Regions from separate parts of the Homo sapiens genome. Here region 2 is linked to region 1. The links are contacts of gene promoters, found by promoter capture Hi-C in blood cells and fetal thymus (Javierre and others, 2016). All regions are on one chromosome and are shown on one strand. Each heading gives the region's core, a stretch centred on a gene start or on the middle of the fragment in contact. The rest is flanking DNA. Distances are from core to core; before and after follow the strand shown. Region 1 holds the start of RAB6B (RAB6B, member RAS oncogene family). Region 2 overlaps RYK (receptor like tyrosine kinase).

Region 1 (3,578 bases), core at 1,079-3,578:
TCCAGCTGTGTAGAGGGTAAATGGGCACTCAGAGTGATAGGTTTTCTTTGTAACTTACATATACACAGCACATACTAAATAGGAAGATTTAAAGAATTTTTTTAAATGGAATGCACAGATTCTATGATATGGAAGAAACTCTTTCTAGTGAGGTTGCCAGGCTGAGGTTCAGTGGCCCCATTTTCCACCTGGAGAAAGTCTGTCTGCTTTAGGGCAGGTTAAGGACAAGACTCAAAATCAGGGGAGATAAGCAATGATAGTTGGAGGAGAGAGACTTGGAGCAGAGCAAACTTGGAGTCTCTAAGGCTCTCATTTCCACAGCATGATGACTGCATTCTGAGAGCAATGCCAGTATCTGCTCCAGCGACGTGAGCCCGGTAGTCGGAGCCGGGTTTTTGTCATTTGAACTGGAAGAATTATGACAGAGTCCCCCAAAGTAAGCTGGACCATAGTCAGCCCAGCTGGACCTGGTAAGCATATGGGATGACTTGGAGGCTTAGAGGTGCCCAGAGGGGCCCTGCCCCAGCCCTCCCTCCCCTACTGCCATACCACCTTACATGTGCGGGACCAGATGATCAGAGGAGGTACAGGACCTGCCTAGGCTTACCCAAAAGATGGTGCCTTTTCTGGCACACCTCAGCTGTTTTGTCTTGCCACCGATGATCTCATCAGGTCAGGATGAGAGGGTACAGGGAGACAGCACTAGATGTTAGGAGAAGGTGCAGGTTGGAGGAGTGTTGCATGGCTGGGTACCTTGGCCAGTAGCTCACTGGCCCTTCTTTGGAGGGATCACTTATAGAGACGGGAAGGGCTGTGACTTGGGAGTCTCCTCTCCTTTCAGAGCTTTCTTCAACCCCAAGCTGGATATGGTCTCCTAAGAGAGCAGGAGCCCCAGAGAAGTGGGTGGGTGTCTGGAGGGTTACCCTGAGCCTGGTGCCAGCCACAACGGGGCAGATATTCTAGGTGATGACTTACAATCCCTGGGGTTCCAAACTAAAGGTAATTATGAGAATAGGACAGTTATTTTGATTTGAGTTCTAGATGTTCATTCAAACATTCAACAACTATTTCTTAAACTCTGAGCTATGTCCTTGGGATGCAGTGGTGGAGCTTCAACTACTGCTTTTATGGAACTTGTGGTCAGGTTTCTAACAAGAAATAGGAAAGAGATTCGAGGTGAGCACACCAGGGAGACAGATAGGCTTGCCCAAGCAAGCCCCATAAGTCAAAAAGGGGGTAACAAGTGTCCACGAGAAATCTGGAGGTGAAGGTTGTGTCTCACTCCTCTTTCTCTTTCTATAACACATGCGTGCACACACCATCGTGTTCACCGACATGCAGATTATTATCTCAAATAAATGCTCACTGAACAGCCATAAATGAACAAGACCACGCTGTGGCAGAACAGTAAGGGACAGCTTTGTAAAACCTCAATTAACCAGCATGCCTTAGGCTCGGGCTGTCTTGGGAGTGTTTCTAGCACTTGGCGTCTGCTCTTTGCTCTCACTCACTCACAACTTGGTCTGTGTGCCTCGATGGACCAGGCAAGTAGAGGCCAAGGAGAGGTCGCCCACATGTCCTCAGATAGCTCATTGTCCAGATACACCTAATTGCCAGGGTGGGGAGTGGCATTGTCAGCCTGGCGACCCCGGGATCAAGAAACGCAGGGCACTGTCCTGGAGATAGTGGCACTGGCATTCAGAGCGTCACCGTTCCTTCTCTCCCATGGGGCAGGTTAGGATTTGGCATAAAATGATCCAAATGAGCAGCTGGTTTGAGGTAGGCGCGCCTGATATTGGCAGCTCCTCTCTCGCTGGCCAGGTCTGCGGGGGCACCCACAGACTCCACAAGAGGCCGCCCAAATAAAGGGTCTAGGCCTCGAGAGGGAAGGGCGGGCTAGAAGCCACGGGGGGCAAGAGTCGAGCCCCATCTGCGCCAAGTACGCCAGGTTTCCCTAGGTCTGACCGCCCTGACGGGCCTCGCCACACCCTGGCTCTCCCCCACCTTCGTTCCTTTCCGCCCTGTCGGTCGGACGACTGCGCTGTGCATCGGTGTCTCGCGAGGTGGAGGAAGGGACTGGCATCTAGGTTTAAAAGACCAGAAACAAATGTCCCCTGACAATTTCTGTCATTTTCTGGATTCAAAAGAGGGGTAGAGTGGGGAAGACAGACGCAGCGGGGCAGCGAGACACGGTCCCCCCCGGGGGGCTCTCAGGGGTACGGCGAGGAGGTTCTCTCCTGCCCGGGTGCGGGCTCGGGTGGGCGGGCGCACGCCCCCCAGCCCCGCAGCCCCGCGGGCCCCGCATGACATCAGAGGCTGGGGAGCGCACAGAGCGCAGGCGCCGGCGGAGGAGGCAGGCGGGAGGGGGCCGACTGGCGCGGCTCTGGAGAGCGCTCCTCCGCCCCGCGCGCCGTCCCTGCGCCCCGCTCCGCCCGCGCCTCTCTCCCAGCGCCGCGCCTCGGGCGTAAAGAGCGCGCCCCTCGCACCGCAGCCAGTGCCGACCGCAGCAGCCCAGCCCCAGCCTTCCTCCGCCTCCGCCTCTCTCTCCTCCTCCTCCTCCGCCGCCGGACACGCAGCCGCAGGCCGGGACCGGGACGCAGCTGGGGAGTCAGGGACGCGCGCAGCCAGCCCTTCCCCCTCCGGCTCCCGCACCGCCGGCCGCCTCCCCTCGCCCTCCTACTCTCCCCTCCCTGCTCCTTCGCTTTTTCCTCCTCCTCCTCTCCCGGCCCCGGCTGCCAGCACCATGTCCGCAGGGGGAGATTTTGGGAATCCACTGAGAAAATTCAAGTTGGTGTTCTTGGGGGAGCAGAGCGGTAAGTACCCGGCTTAATCTCTTGGCTTGTCGCCGAGTCGACCCCCGCCGCCCAATCGCCCACCCCATTGGGACCCCCGGCCCAGGCTCGGAAAGGCCCCTCCTTGCCAGGGTAGAGGAGAGGGACAGGGATGGGGAGGTCGGGGCGGGGTCGGGCTGGGGAGGGGCCAAGGGTGAGGACGGAGGAGGCGCTGGAGCCTGGGGTGGAGGTGAGGGTGGGCTCTGGGTGGGGGGCCCGGGGTGTGGGTGCAGGTGCGGCGCTGCAGGGGGCCCGGAGGGCGGCGGCTGGCTCCGCGGCGCTGGCCAGGGCGTGAAGGAACCGGGCTCGCTGGCTAGCTCACACTGCGGCACCGGCTGCGGGCGACCGCGCAGGTGGCTGGGTGCTGGCGGGGGTGGGGAGAGCGACGGGCGCCCCCCTTGGAGAACGAAGCGAAGCTGGGGTCTGGCCGGGCCTCACTCCGCTGCACTGGAGGGGTGTTCCCTGCGGACCCTGCTGGGAACCATGCGAAAGGGCACGTCCAGGGCGTGGGACAAACAGCCACCGGGGAGAAAAGAGCGACACCTGTCTCTGCTCGAAAGAGCGAGTGCAGGCCATGGGGGAACGGGGAGCCTACCTCCCCTGGCTCACGTCCGACTGGGCACAGAAGGTTCTAGACCCGCTGCCCTTCGCCGGCGCTTGTTAGTCTCCTTGCTGCCCAGGGATCTGGGCAATTGCAGTGAGGGCTACCCCAACTCGAGGCGATTTGGGGAATGATACAGGGGCACC
Region 2 (3,591 bases), core at 609-3,108, 310 kb before region 1:
ACCTTATATTTAACTGTTTTTGCACTGATTACATATCTAGCAATTCCCTTGATGCATAGCATAGAGTATGGTGCAGGATAGGCACTCAGTACAGTCTGAGTAAATGAATAAGTGTATTATTTACACCAATTTAACTGCTTTTGAGCTAACTTCTTAGGCTCTTGAAGTTGTGGTATTTGTAAGAAATGGATATTTTTAAAAATTGAAAGTATCAGCCACAATAGTGTTGTGAAACTTTTTCTGGCAGTCATATTCACTGTTATCAGTGACATACATTAAGCTTAAATAAAGCACAGGAGGGCTGCTTAAATTTTTATGGGCAGTAAAGGAATTTAGAAATGCCCATATCTTTAATGCAGTCATACAGATGGTAGAATGATAGGTTTTAAATTTGTAGGAAAAGAATCTTAAAGATTGGGGAAAAAAATTATATGCACTGAAGTCTGTTATCCCATTGTTACAATTATGGATTAAAATCAATTTCTGTTGAGAAAGGTGATAGCTGACAATTTATCAGATTCATTTACAGGTTTATATTTAATCTTTTTATTAAGAGCAGACATACTTGCATTTTGGTAGTGAGTTGTCTTTCCATTTGATCATGTAATTTCTGTTGTTACTATTGCTGATGTGTCTGTTAAGGTTTGCCTTATGATCCTTCAGTTTTAGTGTACTGGAATAGCAGGACTTATGAGACAAAGTGGTGTATTAAAAACAATGAGCAGAAGTTGAAAACAATTATCTCTTCATTGATGTCTTGGTTTGTTCTTTAATACTAACTTTTATATCCATAATGAATTAAATGCTTAATGTCTAGAGGTGTGGTAGTCTGAAGATCTCTAAAAACTTTTGTTTAGTTACTTTATTTAAATGTATTACTTTTAGTTTTCTTGCAGCAAAAATAAGTAATTCTAAAATGTTTAAAAGAATCATTTTGGGGCATTAATGTTGATTTTTAGAAAATGTAAAATATTTTTCTTATCTTTTTTAAACAGTGTTTCGGGTAGAGCTTTCCTGTACTGGCAAAGTAGATTCTGAAGTTATGATACTAATGCAGCTCAACTTGACAGTAAATTCTTCAAAAAATTTTACCGTCTTAAATTTTAAACGAAGGAAAATGTGCTACAAAAGTAAGGAATTTATTTACCAAAATATGTTTTACATGTATGTGAGAAGGTGAAAAATAGAGTTTGTTGTTTTTTCACAGATTTAAGTATGTCCAACTCATGATTATAGTTGCAAGTGAGAAAAGAGCACTGGCAGGTGAAGTTTTGAGATAATCCCAGATGGTTGGTAGCCAAGAATCTCACTCAGGCCTCATTCAGTCCATGCTTTCTCAAATCTTTTGTCAGAATTGCTAAGATGTTTTCCATTAGGAATAGTGCTAAAATGGTTGAAGAGGTAAAGAAATAAGAAAAATCTGTTGGGACTTCTGAGTAACTATGTTAACTGTGTTTCCCTTATCAAGTTACTTTTATGCAGAAGCATTGCTCTCGGGTGAGATAGACCTGGGTTGGAATGGCAGCTCTGCTCTTTTCAGGATATTGATACAAGTTACTTAACCTCTCTGAGGCTTAGTTTTTTCATCTGTAAAATGGGCATAATACCTGTTTCAGAGGTTTGTTGTTTTTTACGGTTCATTAAATCTAGCCTAAAACTTAGAATACCGTATGTGGGTACTTAGCAAAGTTAGTTCTTTTTGGTTTTGAATTATCTGTTACTGAAGAAATCGAGTGGATATGAAAGAGTTCCAGCATGCTAGGTCATAAATCAAAGAATTTTAGAGTTCTCCTTACAAGTTTAGTCCAACCCACTCACTGTAAGTTCCACAAAGCTACAGTGACCCAAATTTACAAGGTCACGTAGGTAGAATTGGTTAGTATCTAAGATGGGGGGGGGAAATATACTTTAAAAAAACCTCGCAAACCCTCAGTGCTTACTGTGTTCTAAGTGCTTGATAGGTATTACACCTGTTTAATCCCTACAGCAACCCTAGGCAATGGGTTCTCTCATTGTCTTCATTTTCAGAAAAGGAAGCTGAGCTTCAGAGAATCTAGCTTGTCAAGATCAGATAGCTAAGTGGTGCAGCTAGGATGCAGACCTGTTCTCTCAGCCTCTTTGTTAAACTTTCTTTTAATAAATTTCCCAATTGAAATCAGTGCTGAGTGTTATGAAAACACCTAAGGCCAACAAGTGAGTTGAATTGGCTAATGTCTGGGTACATGCCAATAAAAAAGCTGCACTACATTTGAATAGACATTTTAAGAAAGAAGAGTTAGCATCTTTCAGCTTTAGTGTTTTGGTACAATTTTCAGTTCTACTATATTCAGTTATATACCAACTTCCATGTAATGTTAAAGACAAAGGAGATTTCAGAGACTCTCTACTCCAATGTAGTCATTATATATTTGATATAAGGAGATTGGACCCTTGGCCACCTAGGCTACCACAGCTAGCCAGTGAGGAGTGTAAAACATTCAGTTCCTTATCCTCAGAGAGATGGGCATGACTGTACCATGGTGCTTCATCTGTTACTCTTAAGTAAGGCAGAATGATAACCAGACATGGTGTGGCCTCTGGATCCCACCAGTGCTAATATCTGCTAAGGTTAATGATCAGCTGATACTCAAAATGGTCACATACTTTCTCCATTTTCTTTAATATGTGTGTGAAATTAACATTAAAATTCTGTGTTGGAGTAATTTTCTATTCTGTTTTAGACTTAAGTTTTTCTCTGGCCCTCTGTATTTGTTGGTCATGGTTTTGGCCACCCTAGTCATCCAGTTCAGGCTCATGACTCTTACTTTATTATGTGATCCTAATGTATTTATTTATCTGGTTTTCCAGCCTACTATATTTCAAAAACTGTCTGCAACAGAAAACATCTGTACTATATGGAATGTTAGTAGGTGTTACTAGCAAGAAAAGTTTCTTTTATCATATGAGGATGGGAATTATGGGTTAGACAAGTTTTGTGACCCCATAACTCCTTTCAGTCTTTATATTCTAATGTTCACTGTGAAGCTCCAAAGAGACACTATAGTATGTGGCTTTTCCCAAACTTCTTGATCATAGGAACATTTTCACTGAGCATCTAGAAGTAACACCCTTTGGCTAACAGTGGTATAGACTATTGATTGGTGACTGTAGTGGTGATTATCAGAATAGTAACATAGCTTTCATTATCTCGCAACACATACCTGTTGCTGAGTTCCAGCAATGTTCTGATAATTATAGTAATTAAGGATTTTCATGGAAAAGAGAATTTCTAAAGCATCATTTTTCTCCTTTAAATTCAGAACTTGAAGAAGTAAAAACTTCAGCCTTGGACAAAAACACTAGCAGAACTATTTGTAAGTGTTACTGTATTATCTTTATCCATTATTAGAAATGAAAAATGGTTGACTGCATATAAACATGATTGCATGAAGCTTGGAGGCCTCATGGTATCAAATGATAATGACACCATGCTGTTATTTTGCTGGTGCTTTGTAGACTGGTGGATAGGTCATGAAACTGTTAGAATATTGAATATTTTGAGAACTAAAATTTATACGTATTTTGTAACGAGTAAGCTAAAAAGTTTTACAA

The links. The method cuts DNA at HindIII sites, captures the fragments that hold promoters and counts their contacts. A CHiCAGO score of 5 or more calls a contact.
Region 2: a fragment that was not itself captured here is called in contact with the fragment with the promoter of RAB6B in region 1 in 2 of 17 cell types (megakaryocytes and erythroblasts); the score reaches 6.8 in megakaryocytes.

What each region holds. Positions count from the first base shown.
Region 1 is chr3:133,894,632-133,898,209 of GRCh38, reverse strand. RAB6B (RAB6B, member RAS oncogene family) reads left to right here and starts at 2,328. Exons shown (of 8, transcript NM_016577.4): 1 at 2,328-2,813. The coding sequence starts at 2,744. RefSeq lists a silencer at 2,309-2,358. The HindIII fragment of the contact is 7,968 bases long and covers 1-3,578 here.
Region 2 is chr3:134,207,234-134,210,824 of GRCh38, reverse strand. RYK (receptor like tyrosine kinase) reads left to right here. Exons shown (of 15, transcript NM_002958.4): 4 at 996-1,130; 5 at 3,300-3,353. Among named protein-coding and RNA genes, the nearest start is that of RYK, 42 kb to the left of the region's middle. The HindIII fragment of the contact is 3,151 bases long and covers 283-3,433 here.